Regions from separate parts of the Homo sapiens genome. Here all the other regions are linked to region 2. Evidence: promoter capture Hi-C in 16 types of primary human blood cells and fetal thymus (Javierre and others, 2016). All regions are on one chromosome and are shown on one strand. The core of a region is centred on a gene start or on the middle of the fragment in contact, and the rest is flanking DNA. Distances in the headings are between cores, read along the strand shown. Region 1 overlaps SETD1A (SET domain containing 1A, histone lysine methyltransferase). Region 2 holds the start of ITGAX (integrin subunit alpha X). Region 3 has its middle 17 kb from the start of ZNF267.

Evidence for each region. The method cuts DNA at HindIII sites, captures the fragments that hold promoters and counts their contacts. A CHiCAGO score of 5 or more calls a contact.
Region 1: a contact is called between a fragment that was not itself captured here and the fragment with the promoter of ITGAX in region 2, in 2 of 17 cell types (monocytes and total CD8 T cells). The highest score is 6.2, in monocytes.
Region 3: a contact is called between a fragment that was not itself captured here and the fragment with the promoter of ITGAX in region 2, in 1 of 17 cell types (total B cells). The highest score is 6.1, in total B cells.

What each region holds. Positions count from the first base shown.
Region 1 is chr16:30,968,704-30,972,617 of GRCh38, forward strand. SETD1A (SET domain containing 1A, histone lysine methyltransferase) reads left to right here. Exons shown (of 19, transcript NM_014712.3): 11 at 602-759; 12 at 899-986; 13 at 2,675-3,016. Among named protein-coding and RNA genes, the nearest start is that of SETD1A, 13 kb to the left of the region's middle. The HindIII fragment of the contact is 6,620 bases long and covers 1-3,914 here.
Region 2 is chr16:31,353,916-31,358,200 of GRCh38, forward strand. It overlaps ITGAX (integrin subunit alpha X), which reads left to right and starts at 1,261. Exons shown (of 30, transcript NM_000887.5): 1 at 1,261-1,376; 2 at 1,978-2,083; 3 at 2,710-2,813; 4 at 3,116-3,186; 5 at 3,338-3,449. The coding sequence starts at 1,340. RefSeq lists enhancers at 523-652, 843-1,032. The HindIII fragment of the contact is 18,983 bases long and covers 1-4,285 here.
Region 3 is chr16:31,854,798-31,859,005 of GRCh38, forward strand. No RefSeq gene overlaps it. Among named protein-coding and RNA genes, the nearest start is that of ZNF267, 17 kb to the right of the region's middle. The HindIII fragment of the contact is 526 bases long and covers 2,226-2,751 here.

The sequences.
Region 1 (3,914 bases), core at 5-2,504, 390 kb before region 2:
GGCAGGAGAATTGCTTGAACCCGGGAGGCAGAGGCTGCTGTGAGCTGAGATTGTGCCACTGCACTCCAGCCTGGCGACAAAGCGAGACTCCGTCTCAAAAAAAAAAATATATATATATATGCCAGGCACGATGGCTCACGCCTATAATCCCAGCACTCCAGGAGGCTGAGGCAGGAGGATCACTTGAACCCAGGAGTTCAATACCAGCCTGAGCAACATAGGTAGACCCTGTCTCTACAAAAATTTTTAAAAATTAGCTGGGTATGATTGCATGCCCCTGTATAGTCCCAGTTACTCAGGAGACCGAGGCAGGAGGATCGCTTGAGCCCAGCAGGTTGAGGCTGCAGTGAGCTGTGGTCATGCCACTGCACCCCAGCCTGAGTGACAGAGCAAGACCCCGTCCCAAAAACAAAAACAAATACAAAACTATGAAACATGAGGTAACTGAGGTGTTTGAGTTCCTCTGGTGAGCTTCCAAATTCTCATCTGTGAAATGAAGACCATCAGGAAGATTGGTAATAGTATATGTAAAGCCCCTTGCACAGGGCAAGTATCTTGTGGTTGATGGTAAATTTCCCCAACTACCACTCTGCTGGCCTAGACCCTGAACAAGAGAAGGAGGCTGGAGAGCCAGGACGTCCGGGGACCAAGCCCCCGAAGCGGGACGAAGAGCGAGGCAAGACCCAGGGCAAGCACCGCAAGTCCTTTGCTCTGGACAGCGAAGGGGAGGAGGCATCCCAGGAGTCCTCCTCGGAGAAGGTGAGGGCCCGGGCGCCGGCTCCTGGCCGAAGCCTACTTCCCATAGCCAGCATCTTTGTGGTTGGAGCCCAGGCAGCTGTGCCTGGTGTAGGACCAGTTGTCCCCTTCCTGTTAGTCCTCATTTGTCTTTTTTCTTAAGGATGAGGAGGATGACGAGGAAGATGAGGAAGATGAAGATCGAGAGGAAGCTGTGGATACCACAAAGAAGGAGACAGAGGTGTCGGATGGTGAGCACAAGACAGTGAAATCGACTTTGGGCTCGGAGGAGGGGTTCGGCTGCCTGGCTAGCCCTTTTCTGAGCCCACATGACCTTCCTGCTGGGCTTGTGGGTCACCTTTGCCTTCTGCAAGGGCATCTGTTTGGGCCACATTCTTAGGAACCCTTGGCCCCTTGACAGCAATAAGCTCAGTGCTCAAAATGCTCCCTCCTGCTCCCTCTTCTGCTGAGACATAGCTGTCCAAAAGGACAGCCTGGCAGAACGCTTTTTTTGTTTTGTTTTTTGTTGTTGTTGTTGTTGTTGTTTTGAGAGAGTTTCGCTCTTGTCGCCCAGGCTGGAGTGCAATGGCGCAATCTCGGCTCACTGCAACCTCCGCCTCCTGAGTTCAAGAGATTCTCCTGCCTCAGCCTCCGTTGTAGCTGGGATTACAGGCACCCACCACCACCCCCAGCTAATTTTTTGTATTTTTAGTAGAGACAGGGTTTCACTATGTTGGCCAGACTGGTCTTGAACTCCTGAGCTCAGGCGATCCACCCACCTCAGCCTCTGGAAGTGCTGGGATTACAGGCGTGAGCCACCACACCCAGATTTTTTTTTTTTTTTTTTGAGACAGAGTCTCGCTTTGTCACCCAGGCTGGAGTGCAGTGATGTGATCTTGGCTCACTGCAACCTCCGCCTCCCTGGTTCCAGCGATTTTCCTGCCTCAGCCTCCCAAAGCGCTGGGATTACAGGTGTGAGCCACCACACCTGGCTAATTTTTGTATTTTTAGCAGAGATGGGGTTTTACCATGTTGGCCAGGCTGGTCCCAAACTCATGACCTCAAGTGATCCACCCACCTCGGCCTCCCAAAGTGCTAGGCTTTCACCTGTGAGCCACTGCACGCAGCCTCTTGCAGCAGTCTTGACTGATTTCCCTGTCTCTCTTTCTGTCCTTCTCCCTCTGTTCCAGTCCATTTTCCAAACTGCTTATAGAATCTCTTTCCTAAAATGCACTCCTGACCCTGTGACTTCCCTCCATAAGGTCCTTCCTGGCAACTTGTTCTCCACAGGGTGTCCCCCCAGGCCAACACCATGGGCCGTTTATCTCCTGGCCCTGCTCTGTTCAGCTCCATCTCGCCCTCCTCCAGTCCGCTCCCCAGCTGCCACCACCTTCTAGTCTAACTTATCCAATTCTGTTCCTCAAAAACTGTGAAATTCTTCAGTTTTTTCGAGTCCTTCCCGTACATGAGCAGTCTCAGAATATAGAGCCTGTCGTGTTTTTTAACCTTTTCAGCCCAGAATCCTTTTTCACCCAATCCTTCGTCCAGACTGGGTCCTGAGACCCACTTTAGGAAGGTTTGAGTGCCAGAGCAGCCTGCTTCCCAGTCTCCAAGCCTCCACTTCCTCTTGCTTCCGACATCCCTGTGCAGTCCCCATGTCTGTGTGGTGGACTCCTTGTCCTTGAGTTCAGCTTGTCCCCTGGGATGCTTTCCTTTTCGGGCCTCTTCAGACAGAGTCTGGGGCTTCCTTTGCCATCCTCCCCGCATGCTGATGTTTATCTCACAGTGAAAATGGTTTGCTTATGCAGCTCCTTGGTCTGTTGGACTTCCCCGTCCCTAGCCCAGAGCCCAGCATCCACAGCAGGGAGTGAGTGAGGAGCCCACGGCTGGCCAAGTGAGGTCTGCCCACCTCTCCTGACTGCCCCTTCTGGATTTCCAGGCGAGGACGAGGAAAGCGATTCGTCTTCCAAATGTTCTCTGTATGCTGACTCAGATGGCGAAAATGACAGCACATCAGACTCCGAGAGCAGCAGCTCTTCCAGCTCCTCATCCTCCTCCTCCTCCTCGTCCTCATCCTCCTCGTCCTCTTCATCCTCTGAGTCCTCCTCTGAAGATGAAGAGGAAGAGGAGCGGCCAGCAGCCCTTCCCTCAGCCTCCCCGCCCCCCAGAGAAGTCCCAGTGCCCACGCCAGCACCTGTGGAGGTGCCAGTGCCGGAAAGGGTTGCAGGCTCCCCAGTCACACCCCTGCCCGAACAGGAGGCGTCTCCAGCAAGGCCTGCAGGTAGGTGCCACAGGGCTGTCGGTTAGATCGCTGTGTGTGTGAGAGAGAGAGAGAAAACAGTGGTGCTTGCATTTATTGTGTACAAGTGTGTGACTTTATTAGAAAAACATACAAAGAAAATGTCACCATCTCCTGTCACTACCTTCTAGAGACATTGATTGTCTGACACACTTCAAACTGTACCGTCATGGTGGTTTACAGAACCCCAGGCTAAGCTGCATACTAAAGTAAAATGGGTTGGTCTCTTCTCAAGTAAATTAAGGAGAAAGTGCCCAGTTGAATAAGTTCTTCCTCCTAATTTTTCTTAAGCCTGTTCTTCAGTGAGTAGTGAACAAGTGCAGGTTATTAAATGGGCAAATAGGTAGAAAACAAGTATTAACATAACACAGAACTTGGTCCTAGCTGCTTTTCTTTGTTCATTTGTACGTCTAGTTGTTATACTCTAGCACATTCGCATAGCTTAGCCTGCTGAGGGAACCGCTCTTTCAAGCAGTAGATATTTTTTTGAGTGCTCATCGCAGCCAAACAGTAGGTGCAGGGGATGGGTTGCTGAGCCTCACAGGCAGTGTTCTCACTCTCATCATGCTTACAGTCTACAGGGAAAGACATCTTCATTGAGTAAGAAATACATAGGAGGCCGGGCGCGGTGGCTTACGCCTGTAATCCCAGCACTTTGGGAGGCCAAGGCGGGTGGATCATGAGGTCAGGAGATCGAGACCATCCTGGCTAACATGGTTGAAACCCCATCTCTACTAAAAAATACAAAAAATTAGCCAGGTATGGTGACAGGCACCTGTAGTGCCAGCTACTCAGGAGGCTGAGGCAGGAGAATGGCGTGAACCCAGGAGGCAGAGGCTTGCAGTGAGCCGAGATCGCACCACTACACTCCAGCCTGGGC
Region 2 (4,285 bases), core at 11-2,510:
TAACCCACTTTCTAAAATGAAAATGTGAAGATCTCAGTCCCCATGAATTCCCTTCAATGCTGTCCTCCACTCTCAGGACAAAATCAATGTGTCTTCACCAGGTGTGGTGGCTCACACCTGTGATCCCAGCAATTTAGGAGGCTGAGGCAGGAGGATTGATTGAGATCAGGAGTTTGAGACCAGCCTGGCCAACATGGGGAAACTCTGTCTCTACTAAAATTAAAAAATATATATATATAAATATATATATATATTCAGGTGCAGTGGTGCAATCCTATAGTCCTGGCTACTCAGGAGGCTGAGGCAGGAGGATCCCTTGGGCCCAGGAGTTCGAAGCAGCAGTGAACTATGCACCCACTGCACTCCAGCCTGGGTGGCAGAGCAAGACCCTGTTTCTGAAATTAAAAAAAAAAATTGATGTACATTAGGGGGGCTTCCACGGCCTGAGGCCTGCTTCCCCTTGCTTTCCTCCCAGTGGCCCTGACCTTGTCTCTTACAACTTCCCACCCTGACTGTCTGGTTCCCATTGCTGATTTCACACACAGACCCTCCTGTCCCCTGCCTCATCCATGTCTGGCTGCTCTGTCATCTCCCAACTTTGGTTGCTTTCAATGCTCAGCTCAAGCACCACCTCTTTCAGGAAGCCTTCTCAGAAAGCCACACCTTCACAACCCGGGTGAGGCACCCTGTGGTCTCTGTGCTTCCCCCTCACAGCAATGAACTTGCTGTTTATACATCTGCCTCTCCACTGACCCCAGGGCTGGTGCTTTGTGGTTTATATTTTCTTCCCCACCTAGCAGAGGGCTTGCATCTCCAGGCTCAAATTAGGCTTCTTGAATAAATGATGAATAAATGAGTGAATGAATGAATGAACAAATACTCGCTCTGTGCTCCTCCTAGGGACCCGGATGCCCCACTCCTTGGCCCAGACTTTCCAGGTCAGAGTGGAGGGCTCCCACCAGGGTTTCCTTTAGGGTCCTGAGGGGTTGGCATCTGCCCAAACCCCCTCCAGTCTGGCTGAAATTTCAAGGTCAAGGGGTGCCTTCTGGCAGTCAAGGGTGAGCCTGGGAGGGGCAGGGCAGGGATTTGCATCCATCTAAGCAAAGGGCATCAAGCCAAGTCATCTGATGAGAGTGACTCCGGTTGGGGGGTGGGGGCGTGTGGGAGGCCGAGCCTGTCCTCGGATCAGTTGCGTACTCTGCCCGCCCCCTCTGACTCATGCTGACAATCTTCTTCCTTCCCCTGGCCACCTCTCTGCCCACTTGCTTCCTCAGTACCTTGGTCCAGCTCTTCCTGCAACGGCCCAGGAGCTCAGAGCTCCACATCTGACCTTCTAGTCATGACCAGGACCAGGGCAGCACTCCTCCTGTTCACAGGTGAGCCTGGACCCCAATGAAGTAGGGCTGGGGACCCAGGCCCAAGGGAGCCAGGGCCCTGAACTGGGGGCTCAGGCTGGGGGGTTAGGATCTGGGTAGGAAGAGAGACTCAGTCAAGCCTGAGGGGGAGGCAGGCACATAGGGTCTGAGATTTGGAGTTTGTGGAGGGAGAGGATATTGATGAACCAATTTTGGGAGAGTTCCAGAGATGCTGGAAGAGAGGCCAGTTGTCTCTGTACTGCAGAGATTTTTAAAATAGGCAGAATGCGCCAACTTGTGCTCTGTGGACAGGATGCTTTGGTCCGCAAGTTTTCCTGGACTCACTCTCATAGCGCCCGAGGTGCACGTTGGGGAAAGATCCTTTTTAGAGCCTGGGTACTGCTCTGCAGAAATGGAGAACTGCAACTCGATAGTGGATGGTGGGCAAGGGGCATCCCTGGACCCTGGGAAGGAGAGAAGGGGATGAGTTGGGTGTCCAGAAGACCCAGGCACCCCGGGCATCAGGCTCGGAGGGGAGATTGGGACGCTGGGGCCGGGGGTGGAGGGCAGCCAGGCAGAAGGAAGACCCTTCTCCAAAGCTCTCTTCCCACCTCTTTCCCAGCCTTAGCAACTTCTCTAGGTTTCAACTTGGACACAGAGGAGCTGACAGCCTTCCGTGTGGACAGCGCTGGGTTTGGAGACAGCGTGGTCCAGTATGCCAACTCCTGGTGAGGCCCAGGTGGTGCTGGCCTTTGGCTCCATCCATCCTCTCCCTGCTCAGGGCCCCATGCCCCCGGCCCTGCCCTGTTATTTGCAAACTCTCCTCTCTGTCTGGTGTAGCGACTGCCCTGGCTAATGAAGATTTGCCTTGAAGGCAGGCACGGTCTCACAGCTAACATTTACAGAGCAGTAAGTGCAGTGCCAGGCTCATCACAGGTGGATGCTGATTTAGTCCACACGACAGCCTGTGAGTAGGAATCAGTCGTGCAACAAACACTTATTTGTTTTTTCTTTCTTTTTTTCTATACATTTAAAAATATATAGAGACAGGGTCTCACTATGTTGCCTGGGTTGGTCTCAAACTCCTGGGCTCAAGCAATCCTCCCGCCTCAGCCTCCCAAAGTGCTGGGATTCCAGGTGTGAGCCACCACACCCAGACTCAACAAATATTTCTTGTCTCCATACGCCAGAGAATCCAACAGACAGAAATCCCTTCCACATGGACTTTAAATTATTAAAATCCATCTTGCAGATGAGGAAGCTGAGGCTCAGGGAGGGAACGCAAACTTGCCGGAGTGGCAGCTGTGCTGCAGCGTCCACACTCTTACCTAAAGTGTTCTTTGTCTCCTCGCAGGGTGGTGGTTGGAGCCCCCCAAAAGATAACAGCTGCCAACCAAACGGGTGGCCTCTACCAGTGTGGCTACAGCACTGGTGCCTGTGAGCCCATCGGCCTGCAGGGTGAGTCACCGCCCCTCCCGGGACCCAGGGCCGGGCTCCCAGGCTTCCCTGCTCCAGGGGCCCGTGGACTCACCGGAGTGTCACTTTCAGCTTCCACTGTGTCTGAGACCCTCACCCTCAGATATGCTTCCTGGCCCCTTAAGGCCTCCCCGCCCATCGCACTCCCGCAGCTCTGTCAAGACCCGACAGCTTCCTTCACCGTCAGACCTCCTTGTCTCCCAGGTGGAGGTGACCCCTGCCCAGCTCTTCCACAGCCTTCTCTGTACCCCCGAGAGTGACCATGCACATATCTGTCCCCACAGTGCCCCCGGAGGCCGTGAACATGTCCCTGGGCCTGTCCCTGGCGTCTACCACCAGCCCTTCCCAGCTGCTGGTGAGTGGCCCTGGGTCACAGGAGGCTTCTGAGGGAGGGAGGGAGGAGCCGGGGCCGCGGGGGGCTGGGAGTCTCCTGTAGGGTGGAGGTTCCGGAATGTGAGGGTGGGAGGAAGCAGGGGCAGCCCCCCAGCAGCCCGCTGTGTCCCCAGGCCTGCGGCCCCACCGTGCACCACGAGTGCGGGAGGAACATGTACCTCACCGGACTCTGCTTCCTCCTGGGCCCCACCCAGCTCACCCAGAGGCTCCCGGTGTCCAGGCAGGGTGAGTGTCGGGACCACCAAGGCTTTGAGGAGCTCACGCACATCCAATTGGGGGTGCGGTGGGCTAGAGACAGTCTTGCCAGAGTGGATCAGAAAGAAGGGATCTGGAAAAAGAGTTACCACGTGTTGCAGTGGTTCCTGACGCTGCTGCCCGCACATCCTGCCGATCGCCCGCACGCTGCCGGACCTTTCCTGTGACCTTAACCTCTCCAAGCCTCAGTTTCTTCATCTGTTGGATGGGGATAATAACACACCCAGCACTGAAAGCAACACAGGATGATTCATGGCCAGGGGTTAGCACAGCAGCTAGCACCAGGCGACAGCCCCATGAAGGCCAGCTGTTGTTATTTTTAGAGGAGAGGATCTATTTTCATCCAATGGGTCCTGGGATATGACCAATTGGTTTGTGCCGTAGTTTAGGAAAGGTCAGTGAAAGTGCAGTGTGAGCAACGTGTGTGTGTGTACATGTGTGTATATGTATGCATGTGTATACATGTGCACATGCACACATGTACATGCATGTGTGTGCATGTATGTGTGTGTGCGTGTGCACATGCAGGTTGAGACGCAGGGCCTGACTTCCCTGGTGCTGATGGGGAAGAAAGATAAGGAAGCAAAACAGTGGGCTTTGGCAGGCTGAGGCCTCCCCCTGGTTTCACATTTGCTCTCAAGCCTTTGGTGAGACTGACATCTGGCTGCAAATAGGGTGTGCCTTCCAGCACCTCCGTGGGTCCAGACTCCATCCACAGGGGCCTGGGCACCCATCAGAATGCCCAGGACACCTGTCTCTCCGGTGGAGGCCTCTGGGGCAGAGGGGATGCTTGAGAGGTCACATGG
Region 3 (4,208 bases), core at 1,239-3,738, 500 kb after region 2:
GTCCACCAGGGTCCTAAAAACAGGCCAAGAAAATGTGCAGCCAGCACTCAAGCATGCTGTCTAAAGGTCTAGGAATCTCCCATGCCATCCACCACTGCTGTCATCTGGGTACTCTTGGGGTCCTAAGGATGGGCCCACCCAGACAACCACCAGCATCCACACTCATGTGTCACCTAAGGCTCTAGGGACTGTCTGATTCAGCCCATTGCAGCCACCACAAACACTGTGAGTGCTGCCTGGAAGCCTGAAGTTGCCTCAACCCCACTACTCTCCTCATCCACACGGTACACACTGCTCAGAGGCCTGAGGACTTGCCCCATTTCCTAGCCCACTGCTGTTACTACAGACATCAGAGCAAGCCTCCTGAAGGCCTGAGAATCAACAGGCTTAGGCACACTAACACCAGTGCCCACATACACTACCCAGCAGCCCAAGGACAGACACCCTCAACCCTTTACTGCTGCCACTGTCACCATGGGGGCTGAAGGACTGGCCTATCTGGTGTTCCATTCCTACCAAAACCTCACCACAGCCTCAACTAGCAAACACAGCCTAAGCAAGGTTATACCTCATAATGAAGGAGAAATAAAGACGTTCCCAGACAAGCAAAAACTGAAGAAATTCATCACCACTAGACAAGCCCTGGAAGATTACCTAGACAGAAAATCAATAATGAAACATCAGATTTAAACTGTACTTTAGACCAGGGGTCCCCAACCGTCGGGTCACAGACCAATACCCACCCCTGGCTTGTTAGGAACCAGGAAGCTCAGCAGGAGGTGAGTGGCAGGTGAGCCAGTGAAGCTGAGCTCTACCTCCTGTCAGATCAGCAGCAGCATTAGATTGTCATAGGAGCTCAAACCCTATTGTGAACTGCACATGCCAGTGATCCAGGCTGTATGCTCCTTATGAGAATCTAATGATAAATGTAATGCACTTAAATTATCCTGAAATCATCCCCCTCCCCTAGTCCTAGGAAAAATTGTCTTCCACGAAACCAGTTCCTGGTGCCAAAAAGGTTAGGCACCGTTGCTTTAGACCAAAGGAACCTAACAGACATCTGCAGAACACTTGATCCAATGACTGCAAAACATACATTCTTCTCAGAAGCACATGGAACAGTCTTCAGGATAGACCCTCTGTTAGGCCAGAAAACGAGTCTTAACAAATGTTTAAAAATTGAAATCATATCAAGTATTTTCTCATACTACAGTGAAATAAAGCCAAAAATCAGTAGCAAAAGGAACTTTGAAAACTGTACAAATACATGAAAATTAAATGACATGCTCCAGAACAACCATTGGGTTAATACAGAAATCCAAACAAATATTTAAAAAATGAAGATGAAAACACAATATTTTGGAAACTATGAAATGCAGCAAAAGCAGTGTTGAGGGAAGTTTACAGCAGTAAATACCTACATCAAAAAAGTAGAAATATTTACAGTAAACAACCTAATGATACACCTCAAGAAACCAAAAAAGCAAGAACAAACTAAGCTCAACATAAGCATAAGGAATAATAAAAATCAGTCAAGGTGCAGTGGCTCATGCCTGTAGTCCAGCACTTTGGGAGACTGAGACAGCTGGATCACCTGAGGTCACGAGTTTGAGACCAGCCTGGCCAACGTGGTGAAACCTCTTCTCTACTAAAAAATACAAAAATTAGCCAGGTGTGGTGGAGTACACCTGTAATCCCAACTACTCAGGGGGCTGAGGCAGGAGAATTGCTTGAACCCAGGAGGCAGAGGCTGCAGTGAGCCGAGATGGCACCACTGCAGTCCAACCTGGGCAACAGAGTAAGACTCCGTCTTAAAACAAAACAAAACAAACAAACAAACAAAGAAATAATAAAAATCGGAGAAGTAAGCAAACTAGAAACTTAAAAAAATACAAAGGGCCAATGAAATAAAACTTTTTTTGAAAACATGAAACAACATTCATAAACCACTAGCTAGACAAAAAATAGAGAAAAGACCCAAATAAACAATGTCAGAAATGAAAAAGCAGACATTTCAACTGATACTGCAGAAAGAAGTATGAAAGATAATCAGAGACTCCTAAGAACAATTGCATGATAACAAACTGGAAAAATTAGAGAAAATATCTAAATTCCTGGACACATACAAACTATCACTATTGAATCAGGGAGAAATAGAAGACCCAAACAAACCAATAATGAGAAATGAGATTGATACAGTAATAAAATGTCTCTCTGCAAATAAAAGCTTGGGGCTTGATAACTTGACAGCTGAATTCTACCAAACTTATAAAGAAGAACTAATATCAATTTTTCTCAAAGTATTCAAAAAATAGAAGGGGGGGGAATTCTTTGTAACTCATTCTATGAAGCAAGCATTACCCTGATATGAAAACAATACAAGGATACAATGAAAACAGAAAGCTACAGTTTAATATGATGAATAAAGATGTTAAAATCTTCAACAAAATACTAGCAAACTGAATGCAACAGCACATCAAAAAGATAACATGCCACAATCAAGTAGGATTTATCCCAGGGATGGAAGGATGGATTTCCACACACAAACCCATAAACACAATACATCACATTAACAGAATGAAATACAAAAACCATACAATCATCTCAATAGATGCAGAAAGAGCATTTGACAAAATTTAACATCTTTTCATGATAGAAACGCTCAACAAACTAGGCCTACAGGAACATACCTCAACTTAATAAAGGCCATATATGACAAATCCACAGGTAACATTATACTAAATAAGGAAAAGCTTAAATCTTTTCTGCTAGGGACTAGAACTAAACAACGATGTTCATTTTCACTATTTCTATTCAACAAAGTACTGGAAGTCCTAGCCGAAGTAATCAGGCAAGAGAAAGAAATAAAAGGCATCTAAATAGGAAAAGTGAAAGTTTAATTGTTGCTTTGTGCAAATGACATGATCTTATATTTAGAAGAACATAAAGATGCCACCAAAAAACTATTAGATTTGATAAATATGATCAGCAAAGTTGCAGGACACAAAATCAACATACAGAAATCAGGAGCATTTCTACATAATAAGTAAGTGGCTGAAACAGAAGTCAAGGAAGCCATCTCATTTACAATAGCTACAAAATATTAAAATACCTAGTAATAAATTTAGCTGTGGTGGTGAAAGACTTCTACAAGGAGAACTAAAAAACACTGATGTAAGATACTGAAGAGTACATAAAAAAATGAAAGGACATTGCATGCCCATAGATTCCATGCCCATAATTTTTTTGTCTAGCTAGTGGTTTAGCCCATAGATCAGAAGAATTAATATTGTTAAAATGACCAAAGCAGTCTACAGATTCAATGCAATCACTATCAAAATGCCAACTTTTTCACACACAAAAGAAGTCTAAAATGTGTATGGAACCAACAAAGAGCCTGGAGTCAAAGCAATCCTGAGCAAAAGAACAAAGCTGAAGACATTGTACCACCTGACTTCAAAATATCATACAAGGTCAGAGCAACCCCAAAAGCATAGTGTTGGTATAAAAATAGACACAGAGACCAATAGAGCAGAATAGAGAATTCAGAAAAAAACCACATATTTACAAGTAACTGACTTTCAACAATGGCACTAAGAACATACGTTGGGAGAAGGATACCCTCTTCAATAAATGGTATTGAAAAAACTGGATAGCTATATGCATAAGCTATTCAATTCATTTGAAGCTAGACTTCTATCAGTATATATATATATATATATATATATATCAGTATATATATATACTGATAGAAGTCTAGCTTCAAATATATATATTTATATATATATATCTCAACTCAAAAAATATATATGATATATGATATATATATCATCTCAAAATAAAAGATTGAAACACAAACCCATAACTATAACACTACTAGAATAAAACATAAGAGAAACCCTCCTGAACATTGATCTAGCCAGATATTTTATGGCTAAGACCACAAAATCACAAGCAACAAACAAATACTAGAAAATGGGACCATATTGAACTACAGAGCTTCTGCACAGCAAAGGAAGCAATCAACAGTGATGAGACAATTTGTTGAATGGGAGAAAATATTTGCAAATTATTCATGTGACACTATCAGTTATATAACTAAAAGATAGGAAAACCTATGTGTACACAAAGGCTCCCTGCAGCACTATTCATGATAGCTGAATGGGTAAACAACCGAAATATCAACCAGTGAGAATAAGGAAAAACAA